2 separate regions of the Homo sapiens genome follow, and region 1 is linked to region 2. Evidence: promoter capture Hi-C in human tissues and cell types (Jung and others, 2019). All regions are on one chromosome and are shown on one strand. Each heading gives the region's core, a stretch centred on a gene start or on the middle of the fragment in contact. The rest is flanking DNA. Distances are from core to core; before and after follow the strand shown.

Region 1 (7,741 bases), core at 3,330-5,829, 1.2 Mb before region 2:
TAAAAGTTAGCAAAGGTAAACATGAGGTGGGAAGCACCCAGTGGAGTAGACAGCAGCCCATCCTGAGAGCTGGGGCTAGAACGCTTCATCCCTTTGCTCAGTTAAGATGTGTGGACATGGGCGGGTCTGCACCTCTAAGCTGCTGCCTCTCTGTCACAGGGTGCCTGCCCCCAGGTGTATTTGAGAATAAAAATAAACTCGAAGTAGAGAGGTTTTAGAGCAGAAAGAAACAGTCATGTTCATCTGCTACCTAATCTGCTTTCTAAATTTGAGTTGCCAGATTTGGGCCTAAGATCTGGGTGTCCCTCCTCAAATTCTGTGTGGTCTCAGTCCCCTCTTAAATGTGCAGGTGTGTTGCCTGAAATAATGATGACAAAACTAGCAGGCCTGGGGCATCTTTGGATCTCCTAATATTCACTCTGAAACAAATAAGTAGCATTTATTTTTTCCAGACATGAAAATTGCATGTAGGTCTAAGTTTAAAATATTCCAGTTTTAGTATCCCTTGTTACCATATTGTTTTTTGTTAAACTTCACTATCCCAGAGGAATTGAAATAACGTGGGCACTGTGTGTGTTTTCGACCTTGAACTGGTACTGGCAGAGACCCCTGATGGATCACCAGTTCACCGAAGCGCCTGAGTAGGCAGGGAGACCCGTGGAGCAACACACGCATGTTCTCCAGCCGGGCTGCCATCCACACCTCATTAGGAATGTGACAGTGGAGTCACACTTGACCGGCTGTCGATGGGGCTAATGATTCCATCTCAACAATTGGAACTGTGCCCAGGAACAATTAAGCTTAGCTTTGACTGAGAACCTACTCTTCCTGCCAGCTCTACCTCAGGTTGTAAGTGAAAGAGCGAGACCGCGTGGAGGCTTAGACGCATTGTTGGGCACGAGTTTTGTTTCGGTGATGAGTAAAAATCCACCTGGGGGATGGGAAGTGGCCCCACACCTGCCAGCCCCGTGGGACACCAGACCGATGTCATGGACTGGTGTGTCAGGAAGTGCCATGGTCCTGCCGTGGAGGGGTCAGCACCTGCCTCCCATAGCACTTAGTGCAGTTCAGTCAGGACCGTGAGGCTCAAGGAGAGGGACTTACGCAGCCCAGCCTCCTTGCCCTGTGACCAGGGTGGCAAAAGGAAAGAGTTCAGTTCAAGCCATAGAGCTAGATTCCTGGTCCCCAGTGCTACAACCCTAGCCGTGTGATCTTGGACCTCTGGCTTTGTCTCTGTGAAAAGGAGACCATCTTAGAAGCCACCCCGTAAGGTTGAGATGCTGCACAGGAAGACATTAGTGTAATGTCTGGCACACAGAAGCCTCCCAGGAATGTTATTAATACTGAATTCTACTGTATCTACTTTTCTTGAGCAGTGAAGCTTACTTTTTGCTCTTTTAAAAGTAATTTATGCGTGCTGTAAGTAGATTGGAAAATACAGAAAAGTGGGAAAACCAGTTGCAAATCATGTAACTACTCAAAGCGAATCCCTGGGAGAATTTTGGATCATGTCCTTCTTACCTGTTTGTGTGTACGTGCAGTAGTTTCTTGGTTTGCTTTGTAGTTAATTCATAGTTATAATCTTACAGTTTATGTTGTATCTGGCATCCTTTCCCTTTACATAGAGTAAGCGTTTCCCATCAATGTGTACATTCTTTGGGTTTTCTTATTCTATTTAGGAAAAGCTGTCCTAAGGCATTTACATCAGAATTTCATTTCAGTATCAAGAAATGCTAGGCAAATTAGTTGTAACATCTTCCCCCACAGTAGTATTTCCAAAAGATGTACATTCCAATAGATATACTATTTCTCAAATGGTAGTTCAGAGGACTAGCAGCTTTCTAGGTAAATGAATTGAACACTATGTCAATTTTGCCATAGAAGCTTCGAGTGTTATTTTATAACAGAGACATAACAGCTTTTGACCTAGTTTGTTTTCTTTCTCTCCTCAGGACAATATTCCTAGTATTACTGTTTTCTCAATACGCCAGAAATGTTAAATTTCCTCTCCCGATTTATAAATCCAAGAAAGGATGGACTGCGTACAAGTTACAGCTGTTCAAAATGTTCCCTGTGAGTAGCTGACTTCTTCCCCTGCTGACATTTTTGCCCTTGGTTAATATGTAAGATGATTAAGTGAAGGGAGGGTTTTAAGCAGGCCCTCCTTGGGGGATCATATCTGTGCAGTGAGACCAGGCTACTAATGACCACTCAGATCATCATAGACTTAAACATTCTGATTCTGAAATGGGAGCACATCCTTTTAGCAGTGCCGAAGGAAGGGGACACTGTCCTTGGGACTGAGTAAGATTTGACTCCACGTGGCCTCTGCAGGCACGATGTCCATTCTTGTTTTACCAGCCAGACTTTGGAATGGGTAAGATAAGTTCACCTGAATGAAACTGCTCTCTCAGTGAGAGTCCATTCAAGGAAGGTCTGCAAAGTACTGACTGTGGTGGGCTCTGGGGTGTGATATTCCGACCGCGGGAAGACGTGTTTTTTGCCAACACCTGTGAGCCCTGCTGGCCTGACAGAGCTTCCCCTTGACCACTCCAGATCATCCTGGCCATCCTGGTATCCTGGCTGCTCTGCTTCATCTTCACGGTGACAGATGTCTTCCCTCCCGACAGCACAAAGTATGGCTTCTATGCTCGCACAGATGCCAGGCAAGGCGTGCTTCTGGTAGCCCCGTGGTTTAAGGTTCCATACCCATGTAAGTATTCTGATGGCTAGAGGGGTCAAGAGCCCACGAGGGCCCAACTGAGAGGGGTGGGAATTTGGCAGAACAGCCGTCTTTGTCCCAGACTGTCTCCTGAAGGCCTTGCCATTCTGGTCAGGAGAGGATTAGACAGCAAGTAAGGGAGGCCCTGTCCCCAGAGGGCAGAAACCAACACACAGAGACTGACCGGCTCCCTTCTCACATTAGCGAGCTGTCTCTTTTGGATCTGCTAGGATGAAATCCTGGACAAGGGGTCTCTTGCCAGGTTTAAGCTCTGGTGGCCAGGATTTGAGGGCAGCTGCTTAGATAGGCAAGTATAGAGCTGCTTGGTCCCAGAGCTGCCAAAGTGGAAAGATGTGAGTGGGAACAGCCTGGGGATTAGCAAGCAACCTGCTCAAGCATGATGGAATTTATATAATCTCTTAATGGGCAGCCATAATCTTTTAAATTTGGCCACAGCTGTAGAGGTAAGTTGATAGTCACTAATGGCCAAAAGCTGCATCTTAATTTGAGTGTTGTGTAACTGTTGGGGGTGTGAATACATTCCCTAGCTGGGGTGTCACCTGGACTCGCAGCTGGCCCCGTGTAGGTGATCCCAGTGGTTGTTACACACTTGGTTCCATTGTGAAGACTCTAGTCCCGGCGTCTGGGTTTTTATTAGAATTGGAGCCTGAGCTTAGTCAGGTTCAGCCCACTTCTTTCCCTGTGTAACCATCTTATTTTCATTTTTTATAATGACAAGGAGAAAAAGAGAGAAGCCAAGAATTTTAAGGTTGGGTTAAAGATGACTGCTCTGAGCATGTTGAATGATGAGTGTTGGCTGTTCTTTTTGTTCTCAATACACTTAGGAAAGCTTTAAAAAGTTTCGTCTTTCAGGCCGGGCGCGGCGGGACATGCCTGTAACCCCAGCACTTTGGGGAGGCCGAGGCAGGAGGATCACCCGAGGTCAGGAGTTCAAGACCAGCCTGGCCAACATGGTGAAACCCCATCTCTACAAAAATACAAAAATGAGCCAGGCCTGATGACGGGTGTCTGTAATTCCAGCTACTCGGGAGGCTGAGGCAGGAGAATCGCTTGGATCTGGGAGGCGGAGGTTGCAGTGAGTCGAGATTGCGCCACTGCACTTCAGCCTGGGAGACAGAGCAAGACTGTCTCAAAAAAAAAAGTTTCATCTTTCTAAAATAACTTTCTCATCAGATTGTATGGTCTAAGTGTGCATTTATACAGACCTATTCTTTTTCCAAGAAAGAATGTGCATGGTTCATAAACATACCTGTAGTCTGAGATAAAATGAAATTACAATTAGTTGGTGAGGCAGTCAGGGTGAGGGCGAGGCGGGGGTGGCAGGTAGGTAGAAGCCCCCACAGCGTATACAAGGTGGTCTTCTGCTTGTGCAGGCAACTCCCAAGGTGGGCGCCAGTAGGGGCACAAGCTGGGCTGTCCAGGAGAGGCAGCTGTACAGGTGCTGGGGCCAGAGGGAGTTCACTAGGACCCATGGGGCCACACACGAGAAGGCGAAACTTAGTAGACAGAGCGCCTGAGGTTGTGCTGGCCGTGAGCGAGCACGTAGGGCTCCTGGCCTGCCGAGGGCTGGTGGGGTACCAGAGCTCCATAGCTAGAAAGCCACCTCCAGGGATATAGTCGTACTACTGTATACATATGTAGTACTCTCCAGTGCTTTGTCTCAAGCCAGAGAGGGGCTTTTGAATACCTGAGCAGTGCTTTTCAGTCTTTAGTACACTAGGCATGGTCTGGACTGATTGTTAATATAATACAGATTTCTGGTGCAAAATGTCAACAGTGCTGAGGTTGAAAAACCCTGCTGTCAAGTAACAAACTAAATGAAAGTTTCTTGGTAAAAGGAGATATGAAATAACAGATTCAAGAGAGAAGGCTGGAAGCCAACAAGGTCTTTAAGAAAAAAAAATATAGATATAGATATATAGATATATATCTGAAGGAAAAAGGATCAAAATAAGAATCCCCCTTCAAAATCAAGACACTAAACTTGAATGCTACAACCAGAATTCTTGAAACCAGAATGCTACAACAATAACAAGATAACAGTATAAAAGATAATTGAGAAAAAGCAAAATGTTCCTTGGTGAGGAAGGCCTCTGAATGAGGAAAATCCATTCCAAATTAACCTGGAGCTGATACGTTGAGCAGGCCTCTTGCTGGTGGCATAGGGTGTGTCGAGCCCCATCCATCAACCTGCGTACCTTGCACCCCTGACCAAGGGCCGCCTCTGCATCCCCTGGCTGCTCCCACAGAATGAACAAGCCTGAGGCAGGAGCAATTCTGCCCTTAACCGCACTCCAGGCTTATTCTGCACGTCTGACTTTGTATCCTTTCTCTTCCCAATCCAGTGGTTGCTCTAGGCTACCTACAACACAGGCCAAACCCCTCTAGGTGGCTTAGATGGCTTTTGGAACACTTCCAGAACTTGCCTCCTGCCCTGTGCCCTGCATGAGAGCTCTGCGTTCACCAGAACACCCTCAAACCCCACCCTCCAGACCCTCCCGATCCCTGGAGGGGCACCTCCGTTCCCACCTCCTCCTCAGATCCTTCCCTGGCCAGGGCCCGACTTCGCCTTTTCCTGACCACCTCACTGGTGCTTCTTGTGACCCAGCTCAGCTTGCCTCCATTTGAAGTTGAGCAATTTCCCTCTCCCTGGATCTTTTGGAGTGTCCTGTGTCCCCAGCTACGTTGTTGGCTCCTGCATGAGAGACCATGTTTTAGCCATCGTTCTTTTCCCACTGTGCTTTCTGCTCAGTGAGTGTATTATAACTAATGCTTCAACGGAAGAAGGGCTACTCCTTTATCAAAGGAGTCTATTCATTCTCACACGAAAGAGACCCATGCTATTTTTGTTAAGTAAGACCTATGGCTTTCAAGTCCAAATAAATATACTTGTGAAGAAAAAAGTATCTAATGAGGGATTAAGTAAATGCGGAACTTAAAATGAAGTTTCAGTGGGGCCTCACTTTGCTTTCTGAAATGAAACTATTTAATTTCCCATAACATGGTTTATGATATAAAAATAAGGTTCTGGTATTATAGTAGAGAAGGACTGTCCATACCTTATGGATGCTTTACTGTTGGGATTTAAGTTTAGCTGGTGATTTCTCACTGCCTTTTCACTTGATGTCCTCCCCTGGGGAAGGCCACTGCTGCTTTGTACCCTGCTCTGTACAGCAGGGCTATAAATCCCTCATACAAATTTCCCAACGTGGCAGGGCACTTTCAGTTGTTATTTAGTGGATACTGAGTGTGGCTTGGAAGCAGGAAAGAGAAGTTACAGCCTCTTCCAGCCCAACAATGTCTTCTTCTTTTTCTTCTTTTTTTTTTTTGAGATGGAGTCTCGCTCTATCACCCAGGCTGGAGTGCAGTGGCGCAGTCTTGGCTCACTGCAACCTCCGCCTCCTAGGTTCAAGTGATTCTCCTGCCTCAGCCTCCCGAGTAGTTGGAATTACAGGCACATGCCCCCACGCCTGGCTAATTTTTGTATTTTTAGTAGAGATGGGGTTTCACCTTGTTGGCCAGGCTGGTCTCGAACTCCTGACCTCGTGATCTGCCTGCCTCGGCCTCCCAAAGTGCTGGGATTACAGGCGTGAGCCACCGCATCCGGCTACGATGTTTTCTTTTAATTAAAGACACAGTGCACATCAGTCCTCATTATGGCCGCCTTCATCTGACTTAGCAACTGTCCCAGGCATCTGGTGCTTAAGATTTTAAAATGAACAGTTTCCATGAGCTTCAGAATCCAAGTGGATCTTGTAGAGTCTTGCAGCGTTCAGAATGACTTTGGGTAACTGGTCCTGGTCACTTTCGCCTGCCTCTCTAGGAGCATTCATGGTTGTTTTCCTCCCACAGTTCAGTGGGGACTGCCCACCGTGTCTGCGGCCGGTGTCATCGGCATGCTCAGTGCCGTGGTCGCCAGCATCATCGAGTCTATTGGTGACTACTACGCCTGTGCACGGCTGTCCTGTGCCCCACCCCCCCCCATCCACGCAATAAACAGGTACGTTCCTGAGAAGACAAGTTCCTGATTGGTCCCAGCACCTTGTTACTTTGTTCTTAGGTTTACATTACCTTGAAGACAAAACCAAGAGTTTCAGCAGGAGCCCAGCCAAGCAGCAGGACTCTAGCGACTGTTTGATGCATCACCACCTTTGTTTACTTTCGACTGTCTGATACACCACTGCCTTTGTTTACTTTCATTTTCCTCGTCCATGACGTGGAACGGAATTCCTACCCTTCCTTAATTGCAGTGACATCAAATAACACACTCTCTGCGAAACCACTGTAAGCCTTAAATTCAAAAACCACATGCCAAGCACTGCACTTGTTCTTTGCTTTTTTTGGGGTGTGTGTGTGTGTGTGTGTCATTTGGAGATTAGATAGATAAAATCAAAGTAGCTCTGTCTATATATATATATAGAGAGAGAGAGAGAGATAGAGAGCACTACTTTGATTTTCTGTTATCTTGCCTTTCCAACTGTTCTTTTTTTTTTTTTTTTTACACAAACTGAAATTTTTCTTCCCAGCAAAACAAGCTCTTCACTGCTTACAGGTTTTTTTTGTTTTTTTTTTGTTTGTTTGTTTTTAATTTAAAAAGACCCAGGGTCTCACCGTGTTGCCCAGGCTACAGTGCAGTGGCTATTCAGAGGCACAATCGTAATGCACCACACTCTTGAACTCCTGGGCTCAAGCAATCCTCCCACCTCAGCACCTTGAGTAGCTGAGACTGCAGGTGTGCACCACCATACTTGGCTATACAGTGCTATTTCTACATTGCAAAAATTACCTGTTTTTTTCCCTGTTTCCCCACCCAATCTTGGCTGCCACAATCGGACAGACAGAAAGCACAAGGATACCGTTTGCTCTCCCCTGTAGTGGAAACCTTAGCAGCAGGCAGTATGCCCCAGGTCTGTCAATTAGATACGTTCCAATTGTCCCCAAGGGTAAGCACTGTGTAATCTATGCACAGTTACAGTTTATATAAATAGGGACAGGAAT
Region 2 (7,434 bases), core at 451-2,950:
CAGTCTTCTGATTCATTAAAAAAATTAGGAAATGGACCACCACAAACCACAGACAGATGTACTGAGACAGGATAGGTAGTCAAGAAAGTGACCATGTTCTAGGCGCGCAGCAGCAACTGTGGTGACCGTACAGTCAACAAGCCTCAGCACTGGCATTGCAATTGAGCTCATTCAAGCAAAGCTATCTTCAGCAGGGACTTCTCCCTCTAGGCAGCAAGCGCATTTTTATTTTACCTGTCCTCAAACTGATCCTTTGCTCCTTATAATAGTAAGGAACACACCCCTGTGTGGAGATTTAAGATGCTAATGAGGCCAAGCGCAGTTGCTCACGTCTGTAATTCCAGCACTTTGGGAGGCAGAGGTGGGCGGGTCACTTGAGGTTAGAAGTTCGAGACCAGCCTGGCCAACATGGTGAAACCTTGTCTCTACTAAAAATACAAAAATTAGCCGGGCATGGTGGCGGGCGTCTGTAATCCCAGCTACCTGGGAGGCTGAGGCAGAAGAATCGCTTGAACCTGGGAGGCGGAGGTTGCAGTGAGCCAAGATCGTGCCACTGCACTCCAGCCTGAGGGAGAGAGAGAGCAAGACATCGTTTTTGTTTGTTTGTTTGTTTGTTTGTTTGTTTTTTAAAAAAAAGTCAAGACAAATCATAGTGGGGGCTTTTCTGGTCACTTTTTAAATCTTAGTGTTGAGACTTTATTTGAGACAGGGCCTTACTCTGTTGCCCAGGTTGGATGAGATTTTTAACCTCAATATTTACTTATAGAATAACTTTTTGGTTAGTCAAAACAATGCTGTGTCTCATTCTGATCAGAATAAAACATCAGACAACTCAAGAGAAACATTCTGCAAAATAACTGGCCAGGATTCTTCAAAAGTGTCAAGGGTAAAGATAAGGAAAGATGAAGGAACTCCCAGATTGAGGAGAATAAGGAGACAACTGTGATGTGGGATCCTAGAATGGATCTTGGAACAGAAAAAGGACATTAGTGGAAAAATGAGAAATGCAAAACAGTCTACAGTTTCGTTAACAGGATTGTACCAAGGTTAGTTTCCTAGCTGTAATGATTGGACTATGATTAAGTAAGATGGACCATCAGGGGAAGCTGGGTGAAGGGTGTAAGGAAAATGCTTACATTTTCCAACTTTTCTGCAAGTCTAAAATTAGTCAACAATAAGAAGTTTAAAATAGGCCAGGCATGGTGGCTCACACCTGTCATCCTAGCACTTTGAGAGGCCGAGGTGGGAGGATGGTTTGAGCCCAGGAGTTCAAGACCAGCCTGCGCAATAGAGCGAGACCCCAACTCTATTCAAAAAAATTTTTTTAAGTTTAAAATAGAATTATATAAAAAAGGAAAAGAAAAATGCTGTTTCATAGCGTTCCTAGTTTAGCATGGGAGAGACCAGGTCTCCCTGGGTGGTTGTCTGTGTGTTGCTGGGTGTGCGTGGCAGGGCTAGTGTGTTGGGGTCCGTCTAGGCACATTCAGGCGCCGAATCCCGTGGCTCCCAGGTTTACCTGACGGTGCAGCCTGGGGTGGAGACTTAATGAGGGCGGGGAGTTGCTGCAGCAAAGGCTCCTCCCAGGGGTATCAGCGCAGACAGCTGGGTTTTCACTGTGCTCCTGCTCCAGAGGCACTAGGAAGGGGGCGCCTATCAGACTAGGGCTCTGCCAGCCATCCTTCTCTGTTGAAGGTCCAGCATGGTCCGCTGCCTGGGGCCTGCGCTGCTGCTGCTGCTGTTACTGGGTGAGCGCCCCTCTCTTCCCCTGGACCCCGAACCCTGGCCTCTCTGTCCCTGCTCCTCAGTGACAAGGTGGGAGGGCAAGATATTCCAGGAAAAGCTGAACCACAGGAAGGGTTGCCAGTGAGAGGCCTGTGCGCACGGCTTGGGGACCCCTGGCAATTGACCCCACTATGTGCTGAGCACCTCACCTCCCAGCCCCGTCAAGCCACCACCGCCATCCCCCTCCCGAGTCCAGCCTTGGCACCCGTGCCCCAGGAACTTTTGCCTATTGTCTGCCATCTCCCAACTCTCTCACCCTCCCCTCAGCCCCAGCCCTCCTACCCATCACACAGATTCCTTGGTGAATCTTCGGTGTTGTTCATCTGTTGTTCCACCTTCTTGGACTGCTCCGTCCCTGCATGGATGTCGCGGAGGGAGGGGTCACTTTACCGAGTGTAGTGTGGAAAGTGGAATCTGGTAAAGGTTTAAGGTGGAGGAGATCTTGCAGCTGAGATGAGCTGCTGTGAGGGTGGAGACTGGGTAAGGGTGTTCTGGGCAAGGGTGACAGGTAAGCAACAGGCAGAGGTGGGTTCAAACCCTTAGGCAACATCAGGTGCTGGTGTGTGCAGCTGAGACCTGAGGATGTGCCTGGCAAGGCTGTGAGAGGAAAGCAAAGTGTGCCCTTTGGGGAGGGGAGGAAGGGAGGACTCACCCCGCTGCCATCTATCCCCTCCACTCAGGGACCATTCTAAGCCCTCGAGCTATGTTCATCCTTCCTGCAGAGGCAGGTGCTGAAGTCACAGCAGGAATCACTCTCACCACGCGGTCCAATCCACAGCCTGAAAGACACAGCCATTGCCAGAGAGGCACCCTGCTCCCAGCCCTGGGGGGGGGATACCACCCCGTAGCCCCTGTGCACAAACACACAGGGAGATGGATGAGGGGCCAGGCTGTGCACGTCCACTCAGGCTGGGCACCAGAAAGGCTTCTAGTCTGAATGAGATGCTCCAGACTGGAGAACTTGTGGAGGCTGGGGGGGATTCGATTAGCCTGGTTTTTGTGACTCAAATCCTGGGAAGGGGCTGCCAAGTCCCAACTTCCAGTTATCCTGGCTCTATTTAGACACAGCCTGTGGGCATGTGGGCAGAGCTCACCCTCTGTCTACCCAACCCCTGGTGTGTGACTGGGGTGCCAGGCACCTTCTCTGTCTCCAGCAGGGTGTCACCTATCATGGGGCCTGGTCACTAAAACCACTGATGAACCCTTGGGTCCTGTGGCTCAGGACAAAGCCCGGCGGTGTGTCGTCAGGGACTTCTCTGAATCCACACCCTGGCAGCCAGGACTCAGTGGGTTCTTCAGTGGCCAGAGCTCTTGCATGAATCCGCTCTCCCCTGGCTGATGAAGGGTGGAGGGGCTGGAGGAAGCCAGTGCAGATGGGGCAGGATGACCTCGACTCAAGGGAGCATCAGGAAGGGCTGGAGAGGGGAGACACCCATGCAGGGGGCAGGAGGAGGAGCAGGAGGTCAGGAAGGAGGGAGAAACAGAAATCAATAGACCCACCCAAAGGGTCTCCATGGTGGAGGATAAGCGGCGAGGTGGAGGGGGTAGAGGAGGAAAGGTATGGCGTCACAGCCTGTCATTAAGAGACTAGGAGCAGCCACTGTCTTCTATGCCATCTCTGGTTTTAAAGTCTCCATTGGCCAGATCCCCAGAAAGCCTCATTGTTCCCCCGTCAGGTAGTGCCATTGAGTGTAGGAGGAGCCCCTGGACCCGTCTTTGGACGTGTGTGGCCGTTCTGGAGAAATGGTGGCGATGCTTGGGAAGGAGGGGCTTCAGCTTTTGGGGAAGGCCTGGCTCAGCCTCCATGCTCCCTCTCCATCCCTGACGTGTTGCAGAGCCCTCCAGAGCCCGCCGCTGCCCATCCCCACGACGGAGAGCCGATCAGTGCCAGTCGGCCCCGCCTTTGGGCCACACTCTATGCTTTCTCGGGTTTTCAGTGTCCCCCACCTTCCAGGGGCGTGGATGGGCTGGGTGAAGTGTGCATGCGGGGCGCACTGAGACCTGCAGCCTCCCCGCGCCTTTCCCAGGGTCGGCGAGCTCGGTCGGAGGGAACCGATGTGTGGACGCGGCCGAAGCCTGCACGGCGGACGCGCGGTGCCAGCGTTTGCGCTCCGAGTATGTGGCGCAGTGCCTGGGCCGGGCTGCGCAGGGGGGCTGTCCCCGCGCCCGCTGCCGCCGGGCCCTGCGCCGCTTCTTCGCCCGCGGGCCGCCCGCGCTCACCCACGCACTGCTCTTCTGCCCGTGCGCGGGCCCCGCGTGCGCCGAGCGTCGGCGCCAGACCTTCGTGCCCTCCTGCGCCTTTTCGGGGCCCGGCCCCGCGCCGCCCTCCTGCCTTGAGCCCTTAAACTTCTGCGAGCGCAGCCGGGTCTGCAGGTGCGCGCGGGCGGCGGCGGGGCCGTGGCGAGGGTGGGGACGGGGCCTCTCTCCGGCTCACCGCCCTCCCGCCGCGCAGGCCTCGCCTCCTGGCCTTTCAGGTCTCGTGCACCCCAGCGCCCAGCGCCCCCGACGGCTGCCTGCTGGACCAGGGCGCCCGCTGCCTGCGCGCCTACGCGGGCCTCGTGGGTACGCGCGGCCGGGATCCGGGCGAGGGCGGGGGTTCTCCAGGGGATATCTCCGCCCGGGTGGGCCGATGACTTCGCCCTCAGGGTCCCCGCAGGCACCGCCGTCACCCCTAACTACGTGGACAACGTGAGCGCGCGCGTGGCGCCCTGGTGCGACTGCGGAGCCAGCGGGAACCGGCGTGAGGACTGCGAAGCCTTCCGGGGGCTCTTTACCAGGAACCGCTGCTTGGGTGAGGGGCCCGGGGGGGAGTGGAGGGGGAGTGGGGGCGGCGCTTACTGCCCCCTCCCAAGCCGCCTGGCTGGGAGCCATTTTAGAGGGGAGAATGGAAGACTGTACAGTTGAGTCACTCTGTCACAGCTGTGCTTATTATTTTGTTATTCCTCACCACACACCTTCTGTCCAAGGAGCCAGTCTTTGCAGCAGGGGGTCTCTCACTTTGTCCCCTGTGCTGAGCCCTGTGCTAGGGTTTCCCAGCTAAGTCCACCCTGGACCCCTCCCTCCATAGATGGTGCCATTCAGGCCTTTGCCAGCGGGTGGCCCCCAGTCCTGCTGGACCAGCTGAACCCCCAGGGAGACCCGGAGCACAGCCTCCTGCAGGTAGGTGCAGGGAGGGGAGGGTGAGCTGGCACCTCCCCCACTGTCACCTTCACACCCTTCCGTCCCTGGTGGGCCTGGGTGGAGGCATGAAGGGCCTGGGGTGGGGGTGCAGGCAGAGGGCAGAGACAGGCTTTTGCCTCAAGTCTGCACTTGGCTCCCACCCCCAAGGTGTCCTCCACAGGCAGGGCCCTGGAGAGACGCTCCCTGCTCTCCATACTTCCTGTCCTGGCTCTCCCGGCCCTGCTCTGATTAGGACAGCGACCTCGGATAGCACAGCCAGCTACTCCACCCTGCCTGCCTGGGCCGCCTCTGTGGCCTACTGGCCCCTTGAGAAGGGGCTGGCTTACCCCCCAAGCCGGCCCTGGTGCTTTCACTCCGCTGCCCTTTGTAGGTTTGGACACCCTGTGTGCCGTCCCCTGGGGCAAGGGATGTAGGCTGGGGCCTGACTGTAAAGCCCCCGTCTCCCTGTCAGGAGGCATCTTGGTTGTAAGTCCCTTTATTCACAGACCTTGAGACCACTGGGGTCTCCCACAAGGTGGGGTCAGGAGAGGGTCACTTTTGTAGCTGAGACCTCTCTGGAGACCCAGATCCCCTAGAGCAGGTCAGAGACCATCCAGAATCCCAGAATTCTAGGAAATTGTATCAGCCTCCCAAGCATATAACCCCCTAAGGAATCCATCGGACAAGACCCCGTCTAACACTGCATCCTCCCAACTGGGCATTACCCACCATTGTAGCCACCTGTGCGCCATGACCATGCTGGCAGAGTCTTTCCTGTTCCCCATATGCTGCTTGAGGGGCCCCACCCTGTGCCCTGCCTGGCATTGGCCCTGTGGCCATCTTCCCCCTGGTTTCCTGCAGCTGTAGGAATAACATACAGTGCTTATTAAATCTGTGTGCTGAGACTGACCTTGCTTTTATGTGGTCTGTGTCCTGGGAGCCTGGAGACCAGGGTCTACCACTGGGTGTATCCCTGCTGGCCTGTGTGACCTCCAGTGGCCTCAGAACCTGTCTGGGCCCCATCACCTCACCTAAGGAAGCTGAAATGAATCAGCTCTCACTTCCTCATGGCAGGGATTCTCATTGCTTTCGTCTCTTCTTTCTCCACTAGTACTCAGATAATGAAACTGCATTTCCCAGCCTCCCTTGCAGCTGGACCACGTCACACACACTGCCCAATGTGGACCCAGCAGATGCTAAGAGCATTGATTTTTTTTGTCTGTTTGTTTTTGAGACAGGGTCTCACTCTGTCACCAGGCAGTAGTGCAGTGGCATGATCATAGTCCACTGCAGCCCTGAACCCCTGGGGTGAAACGATCCTCCCGCCTCCTGCCTGCCTCCTTCTTCCTCCAAAGCTTGGAGACTTCTGATGAGGAAAGGGTTCCTGTGTCTCTAGCGGCTCCTTCTCAATCTGCTTGAGGTTTGGCAGGAGGTTGAAGTGGAGGTTGTGGGGGCCTTGCTCAGAGACCTCTCTGGGCCAGTGCAGCGCATCCCCCAGCCCCTGGAAATGGTGGCTGGTAACACAGCTCAGAGCTGTCCCCTTCTCTAGGGAATTGTACTCCCAGAAATGCCTGTCCACTTTTACTCTGCTCCCAGAGGCAACTGCAGCCAGTGACTGCCTCAAGGGACAATGCAGTGTGCTGTTCCTGCTCCAGAGCCCCTGTGGGGTCAAGCTGAGGCTAGACTCCAGCAGGGACCCCCACCTGGCTCAGCTCCCGCCCCTGCCCGCCTCCTCCAGCTCTCCTCACTGGCAGGTTCCCCCAAAGGCATTCCCTCAGTAAATCATGGCATTTGAGAACTCCTGTCTTGGGCTTGGCTTCTAGAGATCCTGACCTAAGACACAGCGGTTAGGTACAGACCACACCAAAACTCAGGCCTGGAGCTGTCCTGATTGGAAAAAGAGCCACCAGCTCTGAAATCAGGTGTGGACTTCGCAGCTCACATCAGACCCACAAACACTGCTTGCTGACAGCTGTCCACCAGCCTCTCAGCTTCAGTCAGGACTCCCTTTTTTTGAGTCAGAGCCTCGCTTTGTTAGCTAGCCTGGAGTGCAGTGGTGCAATCTTGGCTCACTGCAACCTCCACCTCCCAGGTTCAAGCGATTCTCCCACCTCAGCCTCCCTAACAACTGGGATTACAGGGACATGCCACCATGCCCGGCTAATTTTTGTATTTTTAGTAGAAACGGGGTTTCACCATGTTGGTCAGGCTGGTCTTGAACTCCTGACCTCAGGTGATCCGCCTGCCTCGGCCTCCCAAAGTGCTGGGATTACAGGCATGAGCCACTGTGCCCGGCCAAGGACTCTCTTGACTGTAACAAGCAAATCAGAGTGGCTTGAGCATGTGCCTGAGCCATGTGGGCTTCAGGCACAGCTGTCTCCAGGGGTTCAAATGATGTTGCCCCTGCTGGTCTGTGCATTGGTTTCCCCTGCAGCCAGGCAGGCTTTCACTGAGAGTGTAAGATTGCCACCAGCAGCCCCAGTTTGCAGTGTC

Evidence for each region. Contacts are between HindIII fragments. The study calls those that stand out against the background at their distance.
Region 1: a contact is called between a fragment that was not itself captured here and the fragment with the promoter of GFRA4 in region 2, in 1 of the 25 tissues and cell types used here (dorsolateral prefrontal cortex).

What each region holds. Positions count from the first base shown.
Region 1 is chr20:4,868,908-4,876,648 of GRCh38, reverse strand. SLC23A2 (solute carrier family 23 member 2) reads left to right here. Exons shown (of 17, transcript NM_005116.6): 10 at 1,953-2,073; 11 at 2,557-2,713; 12 at 6,596-6,743. Among named protein-coding and RNA genes, the nearest start is that of RASSF2, 49 kb to the right of the region's middle. RefSeq lists an enhancer at 785-934. The HindIII fragment of the contact is 3,701 bases long and covers 2,729-6,429 here.
Region 2 is chr20:3,657,665-3,665,098 of GRCh38, reverse strand. It overlaps GFRA4 (GDNF family receptor alpha 4), which reads left to right and starts at 1,700. Exons shown (of 6, transcript NM_022139.4): 1 at 1,700-1,745; 2 at 3,810-4,155; 3 at 4,235-4,344; 4 at 4,439-4,573; 5 at 4,850-4,941; 6 at 5,110-5,851. The coding sequence starts at 1,700. The coding sequence ends at 5,190. RefSeq lists silencers at 4,075-4,184, 4,275-4,324 and an enhancer at 5,857-6,016. The HindIII fragment of the contact is 25,120 bases long and covers 1-7,434 here.